2 separate regions of the Homo sapiens genome follow, and region 2 is linked to region 1. Evidence: promoter capture Hi-C in human tissues and cell types (Jung and others, 2019). All regions are on one chromosome and are shown on one strand. The core of a region is centred on a gene start or on the middle of the fragment in contact, and the rest is flanking DNA. Distances in the headings are between cores, read along the strand shown.

Evidence for each region. The method cuts DNA at HindIII sites, captures the fragments that hold promoters and counts their contacts. A contact is called where the count stands out against the background at its distance.
Region 2: a fragment that was not itself captured here is called in contact with the fragment with the promoter of ZNF354B in region 1 in 2 of the 25 tissues and cell types used here (liver and spleen).

What each region holds. Positions count from the first base shown.
Region 1 is chr5:178,855,601-178,862,556 of GRCh38, reverse strand. ZNF354B (zinc finger protein 354B) reads right to left here and starts at 2,604. Exons shown (of 5, transcript NM_058230.3): 1 at 2,430-2,604; 2 at 1,477-1,560. The coding sequence starts at 1,509. RefSeq lists silencers at 2,038-2,117, 2,198-2,397 and enhancers at 2,538-2,737, 2,022-2,754. The HindIII fragment of the contact is 12,564 bases long and covers 1-6,956 here.
Region 2 is chr5:178,762,097-178,768,939 of GRCh38, reverse strand. It overlaps the pseudogene AACSP1. Among named protein-coding and RNA genes, the nearest start is that of ZNF354A, 35 kb to the right of the region's middle. The HindIII fragment of the contact is 4,639 bases long and covers 2,341-6,843 here.

The sequences.
Region 1 (6,956 bases), core at 1,355-3,854:
CTCTACTAAAATACAAAAAAAAATTAGCCGGGCGTGGTGGCACATGCCTGTAGTCCTAGCTACTCAGGAGGCTGAGGCAGGGGAATTGCTTGAACCAGGGAGGCGGAGGTTGCAGTGAGCCGAGATCGCGCCACTGCACTCCAGCCTGGGTGACAGAGCAAGACTGCCTCTCAAAAAAAAAAAAAAAAAAAAAAGATAATGCCACGCTGCAGAAGCACTCTGGTATCGCGTGGCTGCATCTGCCCATACTCTGAAAGACGCACCACAGGGACGACTGGGTGGTCCGACGGAACTCAGAGCCAGGCATACTTGGACTGTACTCAGGTTACTTAACTTTTCTGAGCCTCAGTTTCCTCACATGTAAAACAAGAATTGTAATTGTTGTGCTACTGTGCGAGTGAGAGAACAAATGTAAAGCCCTCAGCCCATTCCCTGGTATGCTAGACACTCGGTGGACATTAGTATTGTTAGATAAAAAAATGAATAAAGGATAACATCGTCTGGGTCCTAAACACATTGTACAGCAGTTTCTATCTACCAACATTAACATTAATATATTAAGACAATAATGTCACTCAGCAAACACAACCACCATATGCTGAGCAGTAACTACTCAGTGCCCAGCCCTGATCCGAACACTTTCCACACACTAACTCATGTGATCCCTTCATCTACGCTGGGAGGTGGGCACGGCTGTTATTCCCATTTTACAGGTGAGAAAACTGAGGCACAGAGAGGTGAAGCCCAAGGCCCACAAACAGCAACAGAGGAGATGGGTTAAAACGCTGCCATCTGGCTTAACAGCCCTACTTCCTAACTACCACCTACGCTGCCTCTGCACTATTGCTATCCCATGAAACCCTTCCTGCCGCTAGCTGAGGGGTCTTCTGTGTCCTGCGAGTCAAGCGACCTCTCCAACTCTGTTCACTCTCGTCTCAACTAGAAAGGGTGGCCTCCTCATTCCCACTACACAAAAATGAAAACGGTCTACAATAGATTTCAAGACAGTGATACAAGCAAAGAATATGATTCACAAAGTTAAGAGGGACAAAAAACTAACAACGATGCGTTGGAGAAGCCTGGGGAAGGGGTGGTGTTATGAGGATTCTCAGGGGTGAAAAGAGAAAGTATTCCTGCGAAGGACAGGAACGGAGACATGGGTGAGTGGAGGAGGCAGGGATTTTTCCCACGTGTGTACGTTTGCTCTTAGTGACAGACAGACTTGTGGTATCTTACTTGTCAAACTAGTCACACAATGGATGAAGATTCGTGAACAAACTGTTAATTAAAAACCACTAGACACGGGTGGGGAGGGTGGGTGGTCCTCCCTACAGAATCCACCAGTCATGAGGGCGGACCAGCTCCTCCAAGAGAAAAGGACTTGGGCTCCATCCTGGCTGGAGATGGTCCCGGGTGAAGAACTCCAGTTAGTGGGGAAAATCCATCCACTGGGATCTGGGAGGGCAATGAGCTCACCTGGGGCCTCGCTTCCCGCTGCCCAGCAGCCATGTCCTCTTTCTGGCTCTCCCGGGAGGACGGCGCAGTCTCCAGAAGGCAGATCTGAGAAGAAAAAGGGAGCCAGGAAGAACCCCTTCTGCTTTCCAGCCCTGGAATCCGCAGCTCTAAAACCCCGACTCCCGCTGAGAAGGACCCCGCGCGCCCTCACAGGGATTCGGGAGGAGCCAGGAGCCCGCGGACCAGAGCAGCGCTGGGCCGCCCGGCCAGGCCCAGGCCCCACAGGCTTGGGGCTTACGGAGGGGACGCTGGACCCGCAGTGGCAGCAGCGACCCGCTGAGCCCACCAGGGCCAGGGCTCGCCCCACGCCGCTGAGTTCCTCGGCGCCAGCTGGCACTGCCAGCACCCACTGCACCGCTCAGGAAACTGAGGCAGCGCCGGGGCACCTGCCCCGTTCACGCCGCTGCGAGGCGGGCCGGGACTCCCACCACGACGGCCCCGGGACGACTTCCCTCCGCCTCAAGCCTTTCCCAGCCGGTTCCTCTCTCTCCCGCCAACGAATCGTCTCCCGACTCCACGGAAAACGGCTTTGAAGAGGAAAGCGCTGGGTGTCCCGAGGCAGGAGGAGTGGCCGTCCTGGGGACTGACTCAGAAACCGGGCCCGGCTGCCTCTGCCCTGCGCTCGGGGTCCCGGCGCCCCGAGTCCGCGAGGCCCACACGGCGCGCGCAGGGTGGGCCCGGGAGGAAACGCCTGGCCCCGCGTTCACGGCGGGCGGCGCGAGCCAGAGGCAGGGGCGTCGGCAGCGGCACCGGAGCGGCCCGTGAGGGGCGAGAGTCCAAGTCCTGGCGCGGGGGCCGGTGACAGACGCGGGGGTGCCCCCCCGCGCCCACAGAGGCCCTCGGAGCCCCGCGGCCTCAGGTCGCCCTGGCGCCAGGCGCCGCCTCCTCCCGGCACAGCCAGCCATGCCGCTCACCTCCCCAGGATCCCGCGTTCCCGGGCCGCGCCTCCCCGCCGCACTCTGCAAGCAGGAAGCTCCAGCCTCGTGACCCGGCTCCTCCGACGTCTGGGCGACCTCAAGCCCGGCGCCGCTCACCGGGCAGCGAAAGCTCCGCAGAGCGCCTGGGACCTAGAGGAGCAAGGCGGCCGCTAAGGCCTCTAGGAAATGGAGTCCACGGGAGGACGCTGGCTTTCTGGGAAGTGTAGTTCCACGCGTTTGAGGCGAGGTCGCAGCTGAGCTGTTAGGCGCCCAGACCTATGAGAGGGCCCGGGTGAGCTGTAGAGCCCCGGGTTCCTGGTTCTTCGGAAGAGAAGGGGAGGTTCCCGGAGGGCAGTAACTTGCAACTCTGTGTGTGAATTTCAGGATGGCGTGGGCGGCACGAAAACAACTACTACACAATTGGGAAAGGAAAATCCCCTGCAAAAGATGTTGACAAAGCTGGATTTCCACGTGCAAAAGATGAGCCTGTACCCTGACCGTACACCATACATAAAAATTAACTCAAAATTGATTAAAAACCTAAATGTGAGACCAAATTATTTTATAAATTACTAAAGTAAAAAGGGAAAAAACTTCAGGATGTTGGAGATGGCAATGATTTCTTGAATATGACATCAGAAGCACAGATAACAGCAAAAATAGACAAATGGGACTACATCAAACTTAAAAACTTTGGCTAATCAAAGGAAACAAAGGCAATCTACAGAATAGACGAAAATGCTTACATATCATATATCTGATTTGCAATGTATCCTGGATTTATATGGAACTTTTACAACTCAACAACAATAACAAAACCAAATAACCTGATTTTAAAATGGACAAAGGACTTGAATAGGCAATTCTCCAATGAAGATATACAAATGAGCAATGAGCAACAAGCATATAAAAAGATGGTAAACATCTCTAGGTATAAGAGAAATATAAACCCAAACTCAATGAGAAATCACTGCACCTCCATTAGGATGGCCACTATCAAAAGGATGTAAATTGGTACAATCATTACAGAAAACGGTATAGAGGTTCCTCAAAAAATTATAACTAGAGCTACATTAGGATCCACCAATCCCATTTCTGGCTATAGATCCAGAGGAAGTGAAACTCCGTGAGATACCTGCACTCCCATGTTAGCTGCAACATTATTCACCATGGCCAAGATATGGAAACAACTATCTGTTGATGGATGAATAGATAAAGGAAATGTTTTGTTTGTTTGTTTGTTTGGGACGGTGTCTTGCTCTGTCACCCAGGCTGGAGTGCAATGGCGCAATCTTGGCTCACTGCCACCTCCGCCTTCCAGGTTCAAGCAGTTCTCTGCCTCAGTCTCCCAAGTAGCAGGGATTACAGGCACCCGCGACCACGCCCAGCTAATTTTTGTAGTTTTAATAGAGATGGGGTTTCACCATCTTCACCAGGCTGGTCTTGAACTTCTGACCTCGTGATCCACCCTCCTCGGCCTCCCAAAGTGCTCGGATTACAGGCGTGAGCCACCGAGCCCGGCCACAATGTGTTTATATACACAAAGGAATATTATTCTGCCTTAAAAAAATAAAGAAATCCTGACATATGTGACAATATGGATGAACCCGGAGGACATTATGTTAAGTGAAATAAAGAAGGCACAGAAATACAAATACTGCATTATTTCATTTACACGTAGAATCTAAAATAGTCAAAATCATAGAAGAAAGTAGCATGGTGATTTCCCTGTGTGTTAATTACCAATCTTCCCATATAGGTAATTCCATATGGCACAACTGTCCCTTACTTGTAGAGCCACGCCCACCCTGTTGCCATGAACTGCAGGTGTCCTTCCATGGTTGCTTGCCCAGTGCAAGGCCCTGTTATCTCTCTCTACACTACTCTACACTTCCACAAGCTGCTGCTTCTGTTTTTTTTTGTTGTTGTTGTTGTTGTTTGTTTTTGTTTTTGAGAGACGGGGTCTCACTATGTTGCCCAGGCTGGTCTCAAACGCCTAGGCTCAAGTGATCCTCCCGCCTCGGCCTCCCAAAGTGCTGGGATTACAGGCGTGAGCCACTATGCCTGGTGTAAAAAAGATTTTTTAACAAAAATGAGATGTTTTATTGTCTTCTCTTTGCAATTAGAGTGAAAGCCAGAATCCTTGTTGTGGGCCCTAAACCATATGGCTTTTGACTCCTTTTCCAGTATCTACTGTTTTTCTTCTACACTCTGCTTCTCAGCACAAAGCCGAATGTGTTGCTGTCTTCCATAAAAATCCTTCCTCCAGTCGGGTGTGGTGGCTCACACCTGTAATCCCAGCACTTTGAGAAGCTGAGGCAAGTGCATCACTTGAGGCCAGGGGTTTGAGACCAGCCTGGCCAACATGGTGAAACCCCGTCTCTACTAAAAATACAAAAACTAGCCAGGCGTGGTGGGGCACGCCTGTAATCCCAGCTACTCAGGAGACTGAGGCAGGAGACTCTCTTGAACCCAGGAGGGCAGAGGTTTCAGTGAGCTGAGATTGTACCACTGCATTCCAGCCTGGGCAACAGAGCGAGACTCTGTCTCAAATAAATAAATAAACAAATCCTTTCTCAGCTGGGCACAGTGGCTCATGCCTGTAATCCCAGCACTTTGGGAGGCCCAAGTGGGTGGATGACCTGAGGTCAGACCAGGCTGACCAACATAGTGAAACCCCATCTCTACTAAAAATACAAAATTATCCAGGCGTGGTGGCACATGCCTATAATCCCAGCACTTTGGGAGGCTGAGGTGGGACAACTGCTTGAGCCCAGGAGTTTGAGACCAGCTTGGGCAGCATAGTGAGATCCTGTCTCTACAAAAAAAAAAAAATTATGAAAATTAGCTGGGCATGATGGCACACTCCTGTGGTCCCAGCTACTTGGGAGGCTGAGACAGGAGGGTTGCTTGAGCCCGGGAGGAGGAGATTGCAGTGAGCTGAGATTGTGCCACTGCACTCCAGCCGCCTGGGCAATAAAGCAAGACCAGATCTGTCTCATATAAATACATACATACATACATACATATATATATACACCCCAACCCTCAAAAGCCAACAGCCAACAATGATGTAAAAAATTAAAAACTCAACCGGGCACAGTGGCTCACGCCGGTAATCCCAGCATTTTGGGAGGGTGAGGCGGGCAGATTACTTGAGGTCAGGAGTTCGAGACCAGCCTGACCAATATGGAGAAAACCCGTCTCTACTAAAAATATAAAATTAGCCGGGCATGGTGGCACACGCCTGTAGCCGAACTACCCGGGAGGCTGAGGTGGGAGGATCGCCTGAGCCCAGGAGGTTGAGGCTGCAGTGAGCCATGATCGTGCCATTGCACTTTAGACTAGGCAGCAGAGTGAGACCCTGTCTCAAAAAGAAAAAACAAAAAACCAAATTTGTACTTCTGCTCTGGGGAAAACAGACATGTATTTCCCTACTCTTTTCACTAAACACACTACAAATCTTCACTATTGTATCTAAAACAAACATAAGAAAACTCTGAAAAGTAGAGAGAAGCAAGCCACTGGCAATGGCACTCAGTCAGACTCAAGTGACAACATGGTGATGAGTTCTCTGGGTCTCTGTTTACCTCATATATCCTAGTCTTGGAAGCAAAGAAGCTGGCAACTCAGAAATGCAAATGGGCACACAAAAAGCACCCCCCAAAAGTCTCCATCCTCTCTCTAGCCAAAAGACCAGGAAAGGGACAGCCTATCACGACAGTACACAGTAACTGCTTTACTCCAGTCAGAACTGCAGAAAAACCATGTCCACACCCCTACTATGCCAACAGAAATGGAAGAAGGGCCTAGACTTCCATCTCTGCCAGGAAGAAAGGAGGGCAAATGCAATAGGCTTCCCTTCTCCTCTTGAGTCTTCTAAATTGTGTTTGATAGTGGAGGCAAAAATTATAATTGTCCTGTGGGTCTAAATACACATAGAGGGGCTGGGTGCAGTGGCTCACGTCTGTAATCCCAGCACTTCGGGAGGGCGAGGTGGGCGGATCACTTGAGGTCAGGCGTTTGAGACCAGACTGACCAACATGGTGAAACCTTGTCTCTACTAAAAATACAAAAATTAGCCGGGCGTGGTGGTGTATGCCTGTAATCCCAGCTACTCGGGAGGCTGAGGCAGGAGAATCACTTGAACCTGGGAGATGGAGGTTGCAGTAAGCTGAGGTCACGCCATTGCACTCCAGCCTGGGCATCCCAGCGAGACTGACTGTCTGGAAAAAAATAAAAGTAAAAAATACCACTCTGCGTTCTGGTTCTGGTCTGGCATGTAAGAAGCTTAGAAATCTCCACTCCTGGCCGGGTATGGTGGCTCATGCCAGTAATCCTAGCAGTTTGGGAGGCCCAGGTGGGTGGACTGCCTGAGCTCAGGAGTTCGGGACCAGCCTGGGAAACACGGTGAAACCCCGTCTCTACTAAAATACAAAAAACTAGCTGGGCATGGCGGTGGGCGCCTGTAGTCCCAGCTACTTGGGAGGCTGAAGCAGGAGAATCACTTGAACCAGAGAGGCG
Region 2 (6,843 bases), core at 3,411-5,910, 96 kb after region 1:
TGGAATGGACTCCTGACATTTGAGGGCTTCCTGCCTGCAGCCCCCAGGCAGCCATGGCTGTCCAAGTCCAGCGGGCCTTTGCTCAGGACGTGGCTGGGATATCTGGCCCTTCCTGCCAGGAGGCTGCTGGGCTCCTGTCTATCTGGGGAGGCCCCGTGCAGGGGTAGGGGGTGGAGGCTTCTTTTCTCTTTCCCTTTCCTCTGCCTTTCCCCTCTCCCTGGAGGAAACGGTAGCAGGATTTCTTTTAAGGGGAGGCCGCTATATTTTACCAGCAGGTGGAAGGTGGCGTTATTCGTGCCCACGAGCTGCACATGGACCCCTGCATGAAGCGTAGTGGGGCACAGAGCAGGCGAGCCATTTCCATCTCACAGCGGGAGGGCCGGCGACACCACACGAAGTGACATGCAGGCCCTCCTCGGAAGCCGGCGCTTAGATCCCTAATTAGTTCACACGTCGACTGAATTTTTCAGGTGAATGAATTTTAATTACAGCTCAGGTTAAAAAAAAAAAAAAAAAGGCACCAGTGATCCAGAGCTCAGGCAGAGGAGCCCTACTGGGCTCTCTTGCTCTTGAGGTTTTCTAGCCCACAACACACCCACGCCACCAAAGGCTCGTTTGGATTCAAGGTGAAACACATGTGCCACGAATCTTAGAGGAGCTCTGAATGTTTGGAAAGGGTGCAACTACGAGAAAAAGTAACGCACCGTCTGCTGCAGATGGCTGGCTCCGAGGAGGAGTTCATGGGAACTTGGGGATGCTCTTGCCCGTAGCTCTAGGAAGCTGGGCCACTTCTGAAGTAATGGCAGCAGCTAGTCTTTATCATAGAATAATGTAATAAAATGTATAGAGAAGTAAAAGTATAAATAAAAGTAAAATCATCATAAAACATAGTAGCTAGGCGCTTCTGAAGCTGTGCGTGCACTGACCTGTTTACCCCCTGACTCACAGCCCTACAGCCTAGGTGCTGGCACCCCCACTTTCATTCAAGGAAATGAACCAGGTTCAGGAATTCACCCAGCATCCCCCAGATGTGGTGGTGGCAGAAGCCACATCTTCCCTGAAAACTTTCTTGCTCAGGGTGCCTGCTCAGATTTAGGAATGATCTTATGTCTGCATTTTCATCCTGGTCAGGCAGAGCCTGGACCCTGAGAGACACTTTTTTTATGTTCCCATCTGGAATATGCACTGCCGGGGTCAGTGGGGTGTCTTGAGGGCCCTCTGGAGGTCAGCTTGGATGTGACACATGCAGCGGGTCCCAGTGGGGCCCATTGAGGTGTGCAGCGTTAGAAAAATGAAGGTGCTCATGGTGACCTCTGGGCATCTCTGAAATAGCCTCACTTTCTCAATAACTGTGCCAGGGGCAGTGTGGGAGGGTTTCAGGGAGTGTTAGACTTGGGTTTCAGCACCAGGTCTTGAAATTGCCTTTCAGAAATAGGTTTTGCAGACCTAGCAGGGAGAGGGGCGTCTTGGAGCTGAGACTCATTCACTCTTGGCTCTCCGGGTGGAGGCTGGGCCTTTTGGGCCTGGATATACCCAGGGCCGTGCGTTTTCCCCGCTTCAGGTTTAAGTGCAGTTTCTTGTTTTTTTCTACCCTTCCCTCGCAGTACACGCTCAGTGGCAATAAAGTGGAAGTTGCCGTCAAACAGATCATCGCTCGAAAAGCCATGGAGCAACGAGGTGCTTTCTCGAACCCCGAGGCCCTGCATCTGTACTGGGACATCCCTGAGCTGAATGGCTTCTGAGTCGGACTGGCTGGCACAGGGAGGATGGAAACCTTGAATGGCCTGGCGCAGGAGTCCCTGGCTTGCAGGCAAGCTGTGCTTAAGGGCTGCCGGTGGGAACTGGCACCTGAAAGAAGGCATTTGAAGAGGGAGGTGGTGGGTGCTCCTGCCTCACCCAGGCTGGGGTGGAGGGAACTGCAGTTTTGGTAACGACTCCTGGGTCCTCTCTGTGCCTGTTGCTAAGGCTTTTGTCCGCTGGGCTGTCTGGTGGCTAAAGGATATGGCTTCTACTGTGTGGTCTGCCGAGCTGTCCTTTTGCAACAGGGCCTGAGACCACTGACTTCAGGGGCTGGAGTCACAGTTGTGTGGGCTTTGGGCTGGGTTCTGCTGAGCCCTTGGGGCCTAGCCATTTCCTGCCAATAATAGCTAACACTGCTGTAGTACATACCATATGCTGGGTGCTGTTCCAGGGCCACGATCCTGAGTATAACCCTAGAAGGTAGGTGTCATCATTATCCCTATTTGGAAGATGGGGAATAAGGCCCAAGTTCAGGGAGCTTGCCCAAGGTCACATGGGCTAGGGCCAGCCCTTTTGGAAAGAGTTCCCAAGAAGGATAGTGAGACTCCCTCTTTTGATATCGTGGGTACTTCCTGAATATCTAGATTGATCAAAAAAATCATACCCCAGTGAAGAAGATCAATTACGTGTACATTTTCCAAGTCACTTTGACATTGTCACAAACTCACATGCTTGAGCCTCTAATTCGATTTTGAGTGAGAATCATTTCATGTGTCATGAAATTTCAAAAGACAACGTTCAATGAATGGTACTTCCCATTATTCCAGCTTGATTGAAATTGTGGGTTTCTAAAAAGATACTATTTATACTTTTAAGACAATGGAGCTTTCAAAAGGTTTCTGACTCTTAAGTCTTCTTATGTGATTTCTAAGGAAGTGGAAATTTTCAAATTTTCATTATGAATGTGTCTTTATGGCTTTCCTTCTTTTCCTTTGTTCTTTCTTTACATATCCTGACTCGACAGTGTTTCTCTCGCCCTTGATGGGAGCTTCAGGTTCTTGCCAAAGTATGTATCACATAATTGCTTTCATGTTCAGACACGGCAAGAGTGGGTTGTAAATGACTGCGACGCCGATGTCACAATTCTGTTAGGCCTGGTTGACCTTGCAAATTGAATTCAGGGAGGGCAGTGCTTCTATCTGGCTGCTAGATTTATTGTTCCCAGTCTGGGGAGAGGCCTGGGGAGGCGTGGTATGGGATTTCTGTGCCTAGGCAGCCACTCCAGCTTGTCCTGTGCTGCCTCCCTCCTTTCCATCTTGGTGTCTTCCTCAGCTCTCGAAACAGAAGGCAGCAGCCCATGATTGATGGGCTCCGGCCCGCTGGGGTGTTATTAACCACTCTGTCAAGGTGACAATGTCATTTTTAATGTTCCATCTTCAGACTTGAGGCTTATTCTTAGGTTGAGAGTTAGCCAACCTTGACAGAGATAGAACCCCTAAAAGTTTAAGACGTGGTTCTTGACCCTGGCTGCTGGGGAGCTTGCAACAATACCGGTTTCCATGAGGGTACCTTCTGGGATGCAGGAAATGTTAGATGTCTTTATCCACGTGGTGGTTACTTGAGTTCATATATGTGTAGCAAAAACTTGGGCTTTGGTGAGGATATGGAGAAACTGAACCCTGGTGCCTTACTGGTGGGAATGTAAATTGGGGCAGCTGCTGTGGAAACACACTGGTGGCTCCTCAAAAAGTTAAACATGTAATTACCCTGTGAGCCAGGAATTGCACTCCTAGGTATATACCCAAAAGAACTGAAAGCAAGGACAGAAGCAGATGCTTGTAAGCTAATGTTTGTAGCAGCGTTATTCACAACCACCAAAAGGTGGAAACAACACAAGCATTTGCTGATGAATGGTTACTGTTCTGTCCCTACAATAGAATGTTATTCAGCCACGAAAAGGAATGAAGTTCTGACACACACTGCAATGTGTATGAACCTTGAACCCATTATCGTGACAGACACTGGTCACAAAATGACAAATACTGTATGATTCCACTTACATGAAATACCCAGAATAGTCACATTCACAGGGACAGAAAGTAGACCAGAGCTTATTCAGGGAAGGGGAGAGAGAAGGAATGGGGAGTGAATATTTAATGGGTACATAGTTTTAGTTTGGAATGATGAAAAGTTTCTAGAAATGGATGGTGGTGACTTTTGCATAACACTGTGAATGTACTTAATGCCACTGAACTGTACACTTAAAAATGGGTGGAGTGGCAAGTTTTACGTTATGTATATTTTACCATAATAAAGATATTTGAGATGTACAGTTAAAATTTTTGCTGTGGACTATAAATGTATGTTTTACCTGAATTGTAAAATCTGATTTCTAGGCCCTACTCCTAAGGATTCTGATTTTTTTTTTTTTTTTTTTTTTTAAGACAGAGTCTGACTCTGTCACTCAGGCTGGAGTGCAGCGGCATAATACCGGCTCACTGCAACCTCTGCCTCCCAGGTTCAAGAGATTCTCGTGCCTCAGCCTCCCGAGTAGCTGGGATTGCAGGTGTGCACCACTTGTCCAGCTAATTTTTGTATTTTTAGTAGAGATGGGGTTTCACCGTGTTGCCCAGGCTTGTCTCGAACTCCTGACTTCAGGTGATGATTTTAATAGTTGGGAGAAAACTCTGGGCATCATTATCTTTAAAAACTTTAAAAACTTACCATGAGGAATTTATAGTTGAGGAAAAGAGGCAAAACTTAGGCATGAAAACCCCTCAAGAATAAGAATTGTGGAATCAAGGCTGGGCCATGTGCTGTATGAAGGCCAATGAGTTGTGAGTGGAAGGGACGTATCATTTTTACGTCACAGGTCTTAATTGCTGATGTAAGAGTCTCCAAAGCTCTCTTTTCCCTTTGGTCATGTTTGACATGGGGGCTGCTCTGTCCCCCTGGTCCTGAGTGATACAGGTTCTGACACTGGGCCTGGAATGATGAGTGGGATTGAAGGAGTATAGGAATTGAATGATCCTATGTAACATAAGTGGGGCAACAGTGTCACGGAAACTCATACATGGGGAAAGCTTTGTGAGTTTCTTGGGCTTTTCCTCATGGTCACAAGATGGCTGCTGCAGCTCCGGCACCACATCCTCAAATACTTAAAGCAATGAGGCAGCCAGTGCAGTGAGAAGTCTCTTTGAAGCCCGTTCTTATTTGACCAGGGGGAAGTTTCTCCCCAGAAAGATTGTCAGCAGCCTTCTCCTCCGACTCATTGGCTAAGAACTGTATCTCATGGCCACCGCTAGCTCTAGAGGAAACTGGGAAGCAAGTATCTGTATTCCTTTCCTTTACTTTCTGTGTTTTGATATAATTTCAAATTAAAGTTTCAAAAATAGCACTAACAATTCTAGATAATCTTCACTCAAACTGCCCAAATGTTGGCATTATGTGACATTTGCTTAATCCTTTTCTCTCTCCTTACGTACACACACATACACACGTACTTATGTGTATTTTTTTTCTAAATGGTTTGAGTCAACTGCACACACAATGTGCCTTTGTCCCTAAATACTCTATTGTGAATTCCTGAAAACAAGGATATTCTCACCAGGCACAGTGCCTCATGCCTGTAATCCCAGCACTTTGGGAGACTGAGGCAGGCAGATCATGAAGTCAGGAGTTCGAGACCAGCTTGACCAACATGTGAAGCCCCGTCTCCACTAAAAATACAAAATTAGCCGGGCATGGTGGCACATGCCTGTAATCCCAGCTTCTCAGGAGGCTGAGACAGGAGAATTGCTTGAACCCGGGAGGCAGAGGTAGCAGTTAGCTGAGATCGCGCCACTGCACTCCAGCCTGGGCGGCAGAGCAGCAAGACTTCGTCTCAAAAAAAAAAAAAAAATTCTTTTTTAGCTATACTTTCTAAGAATCTCTTGGTGTCAGGCTCCCAGAGAACCCCACAGAATATAGACAGTAATGGATGGCATTGTCTACCCTCAGTGAACTTCTTGCCCAACAGGAGGGAAGGAACAAGTATTTCTTGTTCATGTACTACATGTCAAGCCTCGAGTTAGCCACTCACATTCACTCTCTCCTTCAAATTAGCATATCAGCTCTGGGAGGCCAGTGCTGTTACCTGGATAATGATTTAGGGGGCTTTGTTCCTTTCAAACCAGAGGAACCATTCATAGCTTTCTCCAATTCCTGGGTCGGCCTCTCCTCACCTCACTTGAGTATGGTTGTTTTAAAAAAGAATCTGAAATATTTTTTATCAGGTGTTTCAAGGAGCTAATTATGAACTTCACTGTAATTGTTCATTAGTTATATTTTGTTCAGTTACCTTAGCAATTTGCCAAATGGAGCACAAAGCTGGCCTTGCTGCTTTCCCTGGGGCTGCTGGTTTCTTGCCTTTGCTGCCGTCTGTGTCTCTGCTTTTTTTCCTTCTCCTTGAAGTGAATTCTATGGGCCTGAACCCAGTGCTCCACTCCCTTTGTTGTGAGGTGAGTTCCCAGGCAGTGTTCTAGCAGGCTTCTCATCTGTTTCAGTCGCAGAGACCTTGGGACAGTTAGTCTCTGCCAAACCTCCTACAGGCCAGGGCTTGCTGACCACAGGCACGTGCTGCGGTCCGTGATGGCGGGCATGCTCGCACTGCGTCTGGAGGTTGGGCACTGCCTCTTGGCTTCTGCTGTTGGGAGCTCACATCAATGGTGGCCACACCCCCGATCCATCATACCTGGCCTACAAAGGAGAAAGCCACAGACCTTCTAAGGATGCAGGTGTTCCCCCCATGAATGTATTTCTCAACACCTTAGTAAAGAAGGCATTTTCTGGGGTCTCCTGGGGGATGTAGTTGGTGGGTAGGCGTGCAGGTTGCCGTGGTAAAAATCCTTTCAACATTTCGTCTCCCTAGGCCTTCAGATTCCCTCCTCCAACCATGCCAGGGCAGCTCTGGCATCTCTGCCCACTCATCTTAGGCCACCATGGAGTCCTAGTTCCAGCCACCAACCAAATAAGCTTTGAGAGCCACCTCCAGTTAAGCAAACTAACACGTGATATCCAAAATCTTAGTGTACCTAGGTCAGGGAGTTCAGTCTACTGTAGGTC